Linked DNA regions of Homo sapiens: regions 1 and 2 are each linked to region 3. Evidence: promoter capture Hi-C in human tissues and cell types (Jung and others, 2019). All regions are on one chromosome and are shown on one strand. Each heading gives the region's core, a stretch centred on a gene start or on the middle of the fragment in contact. The rest is flanking DNA. Distances are from core to core; before and after follow the strand shown.

Region 1 (2,700 bases), core at 42-2,541, 340 kb before region 3:
GTGAGAATCGGAAACGGCAATGGCCTACTAAATCTCAAACAGACAGAGGAGCCAGTGCGGGAAAGAGGAGATGCTTCTGGTAAGTGTTTCACTTTCGTTCCCAATTGATCTTTGAGGACTGACTTGAGACATTTCCTCCTTGTTTATCTGGCATAAACACATTTTTGTGTAGTGTTTGGTGGGAGCTCAGAAAATTTCCAGAGTGCTTCAAGCTTTAGGTTTCAGTGATTGTCACATTGTACTGGTAATGGTTTCTGCTGTGAATGCCATTAATTGAATGTAAAGGATGAATTTTTTCCTTACACTGAAACATAAAAATAGCTTTATATTTGAATTACTTTTTTGGTGTTGAAGGGGTTTAACTTTTAGAAATTCTAGGTGGAAATCAAGCTGTACTTTCCAGGTGGTTGTCTGTGGTTTTTCACAGTCATCATTGAGGTCTTTGGTCACTTTGCCAGACTTCTCTTCACCACTTTCGCACTTGAGGGTAAAAAGCACAGCAGTACTTTTTCTTGTCCATTTTTCTGATAGTTCTCTTGTCCCTCTAGTTGGTCCTCTTGTTGCCAGTGACTTCCCTTGGGCCAAGTTCTTGAAAATAAGTTTATCCCCTTTGGGGATAAACAGATAATTATTAATCAAAGATCATATAACACTATGAGTTCAGCATACAATGTTTGTTCTTTCTGAAATGGGAATTAAGTGTTCCTGAGAGAAAGGGTGGTGACACTACCTGTGGTTTGTATTTTTTTAATGAGGTTTATTGAGGTATAATTTATATATAGCAAAATTCACCCTTTTTGGTTGATTGGTTCTACGACTTTTGAAAAATGTATATGTACTATATAGTCACGTTACCATCACCACAATCTAGATAGAGTGTATTTTAATGACCTGAAATAGTTCCCACGTGCCCTTTTGCAGTTAAGTCCCTTTTCCCCACCTCTAGACCCTGGCAACCATTGGTCACCAGTGTGATATTTGTTACTATGATTTAGTCTTTTCTAGGATGTCATATAGCCTTTAGTGTCTGGCTTCTCTCACTTAATATAAAGCTTTAGAGATTCATCCATGGTAGTGTATGTATCAGTAGTTCATTCTTTTTTATCACTCCGTATCGTTTCATGGTGTGAATGTACCACAGTTTGTTTATCCAGTCTCCATTTGGTAGACATTTGGGTAATTTCTGGGTTTGAGTAATTATTAATAAAGCATGGGTGTTTTTTTTGTGTGTGTTTTTTTTTTTTTTGAGACAGGTTCCTCACTCTGTTGCTGAGGTTGGAGTGCAGTGGCGCGATCTCGGCTCACTGAAGCCTTGACCTCCCAGGTTTAAGCTATCTTCCCATCTCAGCCTCCTGAGTAGCTGGGGCTAGGGTACATACCACCATGCCCAGCTGATTTTTTTTATTTTTTTGTGAAGACAGGGTTTTGCCATGTTGCCTAGGCTGGTCTCAAACTCCTGAGCAGGTGATCCTCGCGCCTCAGCCTCGCAAAGTGCTGGGATTATAGGCGTGAGCCACCGCGTCCAGCCCAAGCATAGGATTTATAAATGTGTGTGTGTGTGTATTAATATTTATTATTGGGAAACACCTCTGTAAAACAGAATAATTGTTCCTAGGATTTTCTTTATATATTTTTTCACCAATCAAATCAAGGGGCGGCACCGAATAATTTTCCTTCTTTTTTTTTTTTTTTTGAGACAGAATCTTGCTCTGTCGCCCAAGCTGGAGTGCAATGGCACAATCTCGGCTTACTGCAACCTCTGCCTCCCAGATTCAAGCAATTCTCCTGCCTCAGCCTCCCCAGTAGTTGGAACTACAGCCATGTGCCACCACACCCGGCTAATTTTTGTATTTTTAGTAGAGATGGTGTTTCACCATGTTGGCCAGGCTAGTCTTGAACTCCTAACCTCAAGTGATCCACCCACCTCAACCTCCCAAAGTGCTGGGATTACAGGCGTTAGCCACCATGCCCGGATGGATTTTCTTTATAACTATTTATTATTATTATTATTATTTTTTTTTTTTTTTTGAGACAGTCTTGCTCTGTCCCCCAGGCTGGAGTGCAGTGGTGCGATGATGGCTTACTGTAACCTCTGCCTCCTGGTTCAAGTGATTCTCCTGCCTCAGCCTCTCGAGTAGCAGGGACTACAGGCACCTGCCACCAGGCCTGGCTAATTTTTGTATTTTTAGTAGAGACGGGATTTCACCATATTGGCCAGGCTGATCTTGAACTCCTGACCTTGTGATCCACCCACCTCGGCCTCCCAATGTGCTGGGATTACAGGCATGAGCCACCACGCCCGGCCAACTATTTATTATTTTATCTAATTTCCAACCGTCGAAGGTAATGTAATGCGGGGGAAGAAAGCTTTAAGCAAAATCAATTTTGCTTTTAGAGATTCAGGACTTTAGAAAGGAGATCCTCTTGGATCTTTGGGACAGTTGGTCCCAGTCTCATTGAAATGTTTTTTCCTTCTGTTTATAAGCTCTAGAATATCTTTTTCCGAAATTTGCCTGTTCTCCATCTCAAGCTAGCAGAAACAGATTCTGTTTCCTGAACAAACTATAACTCTTTGCTTTATTTATTTATTTTTGAGACGGAGTCTCACTCTGTCACCCAGGCTGGAGTACAATGGCGCGATCTCGTCTCACCGCAACCTCTGCCCCCCAGGTTCAGGTGATTCTCCTGCCTCAGCCTCCT
Region 2 (2,700 bases), core at 146-2,645, 420 kb before region 3:
GCAGGTAACATTAACTTCCTCCCTTACTGGAGACACCTTTTTCTTCTGAAGTGTTTCATGAAAAGGCCATTTGGTCTTTTGCACTGAAAAACTGGATTGAACAGAGAACATTCAACTACAATTGGCTTTTAGTAACTTATATTGAGAAAGTTCCAAGTGTTACCCGTACTTCCCTGTAGAAGTACATGCAAAAGATCATACTGAAAACTAGGATGCATGCTAACAAAATCAGCCTCTTAAAGTAATTAATTCTCCCATTAAAGAATTTTATAGTCACCTATAGTCAAAAGATTAAGTTATGGCTAAATGTTTAAGAGCAGTAAGAATGCAAGCCCAGTGTCGTATCTTACTGACATGCGTCTATTCTTGGCATAGTTATTAACATTTCGTATCACTTCTAGGGCAGTTTCAAACACTCAAACGTTACAACTAATGGGATGTGTTAAAAGTCTTAGAAGGTTTAATTATCCTCATTTCACATTAATTGTACCAACACTAAATAAAACAGGGCTAAGAATTAACTATTAGTGCTTGAATAAATTCAGGGTTAACTAATAGAGCATCTTAAAATAGCCAGATCTTGAATGCATTAATTTTTGAGCTAAAGACTGTTACACACTCTCATTTGTTATTAAACATTCATGAAAGTTCAATCTACTTACAGATTCCACTATTTCCAGGTGATCCTGTTGATTAGCTTTTCGAATTATTGGTTCAGAAGACAACACATCCAAAGAGTTAAGACCACTGGGTAGTGGCAAGCTTCTAAAAATTAGAAATAAAGCCAAGTTCCTTTTGCCACCAAGTCTATACTTTCCTTCTCTCTCAATAAGTCTCACGTCTCAGATATAAAGTGACTATTAAAGGACTTAATACTGAAATTATTTGGAATATAATTGTAGGGCAAGGCTATAATAAAGACCAAAAGCAGGTATAGTTTAATGTATTTTAATAGCAAACTTACAGGAACAGCACAGAAGACAGACAACATTAAAAACATGTACTTGCATGTAGGACAACTCAGTTAGAAAAGTATAGTGAATGGATGGAATCTACTGTATGATAAAAATGCTACAAACACCATTTAGTTGCCATCAATAAGAAATTTACTTGTTTTAAAAAAATCCAAATGCTGGCATTGTCCAGAAAAATTTAACAGGTTTATTTATAATTATTATAAAGTTGAACCGCTGAAACTTGTTCACTGAAACATTTTAACTTGCATTAATGCTTTACGTCTCCGCATTTATATTAAAAATTCACACACAAATGAAAATGGAAAAACTGCCAATACCTGATTTCTGTCCCCTATTTTTCCACTCGCAATCATATACTTAGGTACCTTTTGACCCCATGGAAAAAAAATATCTAACGTTCAGAACTACCAATAACAGGAAGAAGAGAAATTTTTTTTTTTTTTTTTGAGAATGAAATGTTTCCCATCATAGTGGATTCTTAAGCACGTTCTCCACGTATGCGGCGTGCTAGCTGGATGTCTTTTGGCATAATTGTTACACGTTTGGCATGGATAGCACACAGGTTGGTGTCTTCAAAAAGGCCAACCAGATAGGCCTCACTTGCCTCCTGCAAAAGGAATGAAGAAAAAATTACTGATGATGTTATTTCCAATAGTTAAGACCCAACTATACGAATTAAAACAAAAAGGTTTTTGAACCCTTTAAAAAAATGACTGGGCAAGATGCTGACAATTTTACCAAATGCTTACATTTTACAACCTGTGGGACAAAGCTCAAAAGCAGCTTATGAAAAAAAACAAAAGCTTAAGTCAGTAAATCTTTTATCAAGTTACACAAATCAAATTACTTTGTTACTAGGAAACTTCAATTTTTCTAATGGTAACATGATTTCTAATAAACTGAAATGTCACAAATAAAGCAAGAAATCCAATTTAACACTCTCATTCTTATAAACGCAATCATGTCCAATCCAAATACCCCATCCCAGCCTAGTCTCCTCCTCACTCTGAATCCCATTCACACAGTATGTGAACCTCTGCCTTGTCCAGTAGTATAACATGGTGAACAAGTGGTTTTTATCACATGCTTCTCATCTATGTTCCCTTTCATACCTGTTTTATCATAAGAGTACTTTTGATTCCAGAACATATCACAAGTTAGTTCCGTATTTCTTTCTTTCTTTCTGAGATGGAGTCTTACTCTGTCGCCCAGGCTGGAGTGCAGTAGCGCGATCTCGGCTCACTGCAACCTCCACCTCCCGGATTCAAGCGATTCTCCTGCCTCAGCCTCCCGAGTAGCTGGGACTACAGGTATGCGCCACCATGCCTGGCTACTTTTTTGTATTTTTAGTAGAGAAGGGGTTTCACCATGTTGGTCAGGCTGGTCTCGAACTCCTGACCTCGTGATCCACCCACCTTGGCCTCCCAAAGTGCTGGGATTATAGGCGTGAGCCACCGCGCCCGGCAGTTCCTTATTTATTTATTTTGAGACGGAGTCTCTCTTTGTTGCCCAGGCTGGAGTGCAGTGGCAAGATCTCAGCTCACTGCAAGCTCCACCTCCCAGGTTCATGTCATTCTCCTGCCTCAGCCTCCCGAGTAGCTCGGGCTACAGGCGCCCACCACCACGCCTGACTAATTTTCAGTAGAGATGGGGCTTCATTGTGTTAGCTAGGATGGTCTCGATCTCCTGACCTCGTGATCCTCCTGCCTCGGCCTCCCAAAGT
Region 3 (2,760 bases), core at 215-2,714:
GGCATTGACCACGGATCACTATAACCTGTCTTTTCATTTGGAAGTGTACATTATCCCAACCTTCCTAACTATCTTTTGAATGGTACCTGCATCTTAAAACAAAACACCAAAACTTTTGAATGGATTCCTGGAGTCATGGTAGGTCCTCCATTTTGGATGAGATCCTTCAGCAATAGGATCCCTGTAGCAACAACCCTTTTCTATCCTCCTCACCTTTTATACAGAAAGTACATCCCTGTCTTCCGGACTAAAAGGGGGCCGTAATTCGTACAGTTAAAAATTTTATTATTGGATTTGTTTTTAGATTTAAAAAAAACCGAAAACAAAACCTTCAACAACGATCAATTCTGGCTTCCTGGATGCCCTCCTCCCCGACTTGACTTGAAATGAAATTGCCTCGCCAGTATTTTATATCTACTTTTTAAGGGAGGTGACTTCAAGACCATTGGGAATGACGAAAAATTTAAAATTATCATTAGTTCCTCTCTCTCCCCGCCCCCTGCCCGGGATTCCCTCTTTGCTAATGACGCTGGAAAGCGGCTCCACTGGCTGCGTTTCTCTTCTTCCACTCTTGCGGCAACACACTGTTCCGCGCGCGTCTCCCGGCGACTGCGTTTCCCCGAGAGTCGGCTGCGTTCGTTTGGGGATGAAGTCATCCCTATACCTAGTGTGCACATCAACTCGTTCCATCGGCGCAGCACGCTGGGATTCCTCGGGAAGAAAAGGAGCGAAGGGAACAATGATGACCATATTTTCCATTTATATGCCCCTCCTCAACTCCGCAGGAATCGCTGGGCGCAGCCGCGGCGAGGGCGGGCAGTTGGGCTGACCGGGATGCCCCCCGATTCCCTCATCCCCGTCCTGAGACCGCAACAGGGCGGGCTGAGCACTCGCCCCGCGCGAGGGCACCCGGCCGCGAGCCGACCCGGAGTCTCCTGGCCCGGCCCTGTGCCCAGTCACGCGTCCAAGCTCCCCACGCCGGTGCCTACGGGTCTGGCGCCCAGGAGGTCTCGGCGCCTCGGTCTCCGCACCGTGGCCGTGGGGGAGGCCTCGGAGCTCCCCAAGCCTCTGGGGAGCGGGAGGCGACGGGGAGGGGGCCGACGGTCAAGGACAACCACGGGCGAGGAACCCCGGCCGACAACTGGCCGGAGGTGTTGGGCGGGAGGGGGGGGTGGTGGCCCGCCCGAATCCCAGAGGGGTGCAGGGGGCGGGGTAGGGAGGCAACAAAGAGCCTCTCTCCGCCGCCGCCGCCGTCGCGCTCGCTCTCTCCCAGCCTCGCTCTCCGCAGTCCGGCGGGGGCCCGGCCGCCGGCGCGGGGGAGTGCGCCCGGCCCCCCGCCTCCCCTTTCCTCCCCTCCCCCCGCACCGCCCCCTCGCCCCCGGGGGAAGGAGGGGAGGAGGGCGGCGCCTGCGTGTTCCTCCGCCGCGCGCCCCGCCTCCTCCCGGGTTCCTCGCGGCGATCCCGACTCTCCTCCCGCGGCTGCAGCAGCTGCCGGTTGCACACGGCCTCGGCGGCGGCGCGGCGAGCGCGGGCCTGTGGAGCGGCGGCCGGGCGCGCGGCCCCGGCGGGCACCCCTCAGAGGGCGGCCGAGGAAGCTCCGGGAGGAGGAGCAGGACCACGAGGAGGTGGGAGGCGGCGGCCGCCTGGGGACCAGCTCCGCGCCTCGGCCTCTCCGCCCCCTCCCCAGCCTTTCTCTCGCCCTCTTCTCCCACACTCCCGGCCGGCGCCTCGGCTTTGTGCGAGGAGATGGTGTAGCCCCCTGGCCGCCGAAGGAGGAGCCGGACACTTGTCTCCCGTCTCCGAGCTGCTCCCCACCCCTGGAGGAGAGACCCCCCCCTCGGCTCGGCGCCTTCTGCGTCTCCCGGCTGGTGGGGAAGCCTCTGCGCCGCCGGCACCATGAGGTGAGGGGCGCGCGGGGCGGGGGCCGGGCGGGCCATTGTGCCGCGGGAGCCGCGACCCCCGTTCTCCTCGGACCCCGCCTTCCCTCTCCCGGCCCGGCGCGTCTCCCCTGGTCTCCGGTCTGTTCCTCCCCCCTCCGCCTTTTGTCCCTTCCAATTTCTCTTTCTTTCTTGGAAACCTCCCCAACCCGTGTGGTTTGGGGGTCTCGCTTCATCGTTCTCTCATTTTTCCTCAAATGCTCTTCTTTCACCCAGGATTTCCCTTCCTAAATTTAATTTGCGCCTGGCTCCCTCCCCCAAGCCTTTGCAAGCGAAACCCGGGAGATGGGGAGGGGTTCGAGAATCGAAGCGTGCGTGTTGCTGGGAAACAGGTATTTTTTCGTATATATGTAAAAATTTCATGCACTTTTGCCTCCGAACTCTCGTGTTTAATTAAAAAAGGAAGAAAAGTTTGAAAGGTCTGAAATCTCTGCGGGTAATAAAGTGCCTCTGGTAGGGGTAGGTGAAGGAGCTGTGAAAGGTGAAATTTCACGATGGTGGGGGAAGGGAAAGAATTGATTAGGTTCACGTGGTGGGGGCAGTAAAAGACTGGGATAAGTAAGTTGGTAGGGGTGTGTAAGCGGGGGCGGGGAAGGGATCTGTTTGGAAAAGCCTTTTCTCCCCTTTCTCTGTAGCAGCCTGTGTTGCATTGCAGCAGCTGCTTTTTCCCTTTGCTCTGTACTCAATAAAACAGGAGCTAAATTATTTTTGCGGCCCCGAAGAATTGAATGTACTGTCGTAAAATATTTTTTTAATTGATACGATGAAACATATGGTATGATATTTTTCTTTATTGTTTCTCAAATTGTGTAGGAGAATAAAC

What was found. Contacts are between HindIII fragments. The study calls those that stand out against the background at their distance.
Region 1: a fragment that was not itself captured here is called in contact with the fragment with the promoter of ENAH in region 3 in 1 of the 25 tissues and cell types used here (dorsolateral prefrontal cortex).
Region 2: a contact is called between a fragment that was not itself captured here and the fragment with the promoter of ENAH in region 3, in 1 of the 25 tissues and cell types used here (hippocampus).

Annotation. Positions count from the first base shown.
Region 1 is chr1:225,988,622-225,991,321 of GRCh38, reverse strand. SDE2 (spliceosome associated SDE2) reads left to right here. Exons shown (of 7, transcript NM_152608.4): 5 at 1-79. Among named protein-coding and RNA genes, the nearest start is that of SDE2, 9.4 kb to the left of the region's middle. The HindIII fragment of the contact is 3,352 bases long and covers 1-2,700 here.
Region 2 is chr1:226,070,235-226,072,934 of GRCh38, reverse strand. It overlaps H3-3A (H3.3 histone A), which reads right to left. Exons shown (of 4, transcript NM_002107.7): 4 at 916-1,584. The coding sequence ends at 1,456. Among named protein-coding and RNA genes, the nearest start is that of H3-3A, 8.9 kb to the right of the region's middle. The HindIII fragment of the contact is 4,533 bases long and covers 1-2,700 here.
Region 3 is chr1:225,651,827-225,654,586 of GRCh38, reverse strand. It overlaps ENAH (ENAH actin regulator), which reads left to right and starts at 1,464. Exons shown (of 14, transcript NM_018212.6): 1 at 1,464-1,901. The coding sequence starts at 1,897. RefSeq lists a silencer at 1,485-1,614. The HindIII fragment of the contact is 16,817 bases long and covers 1-2,760 here.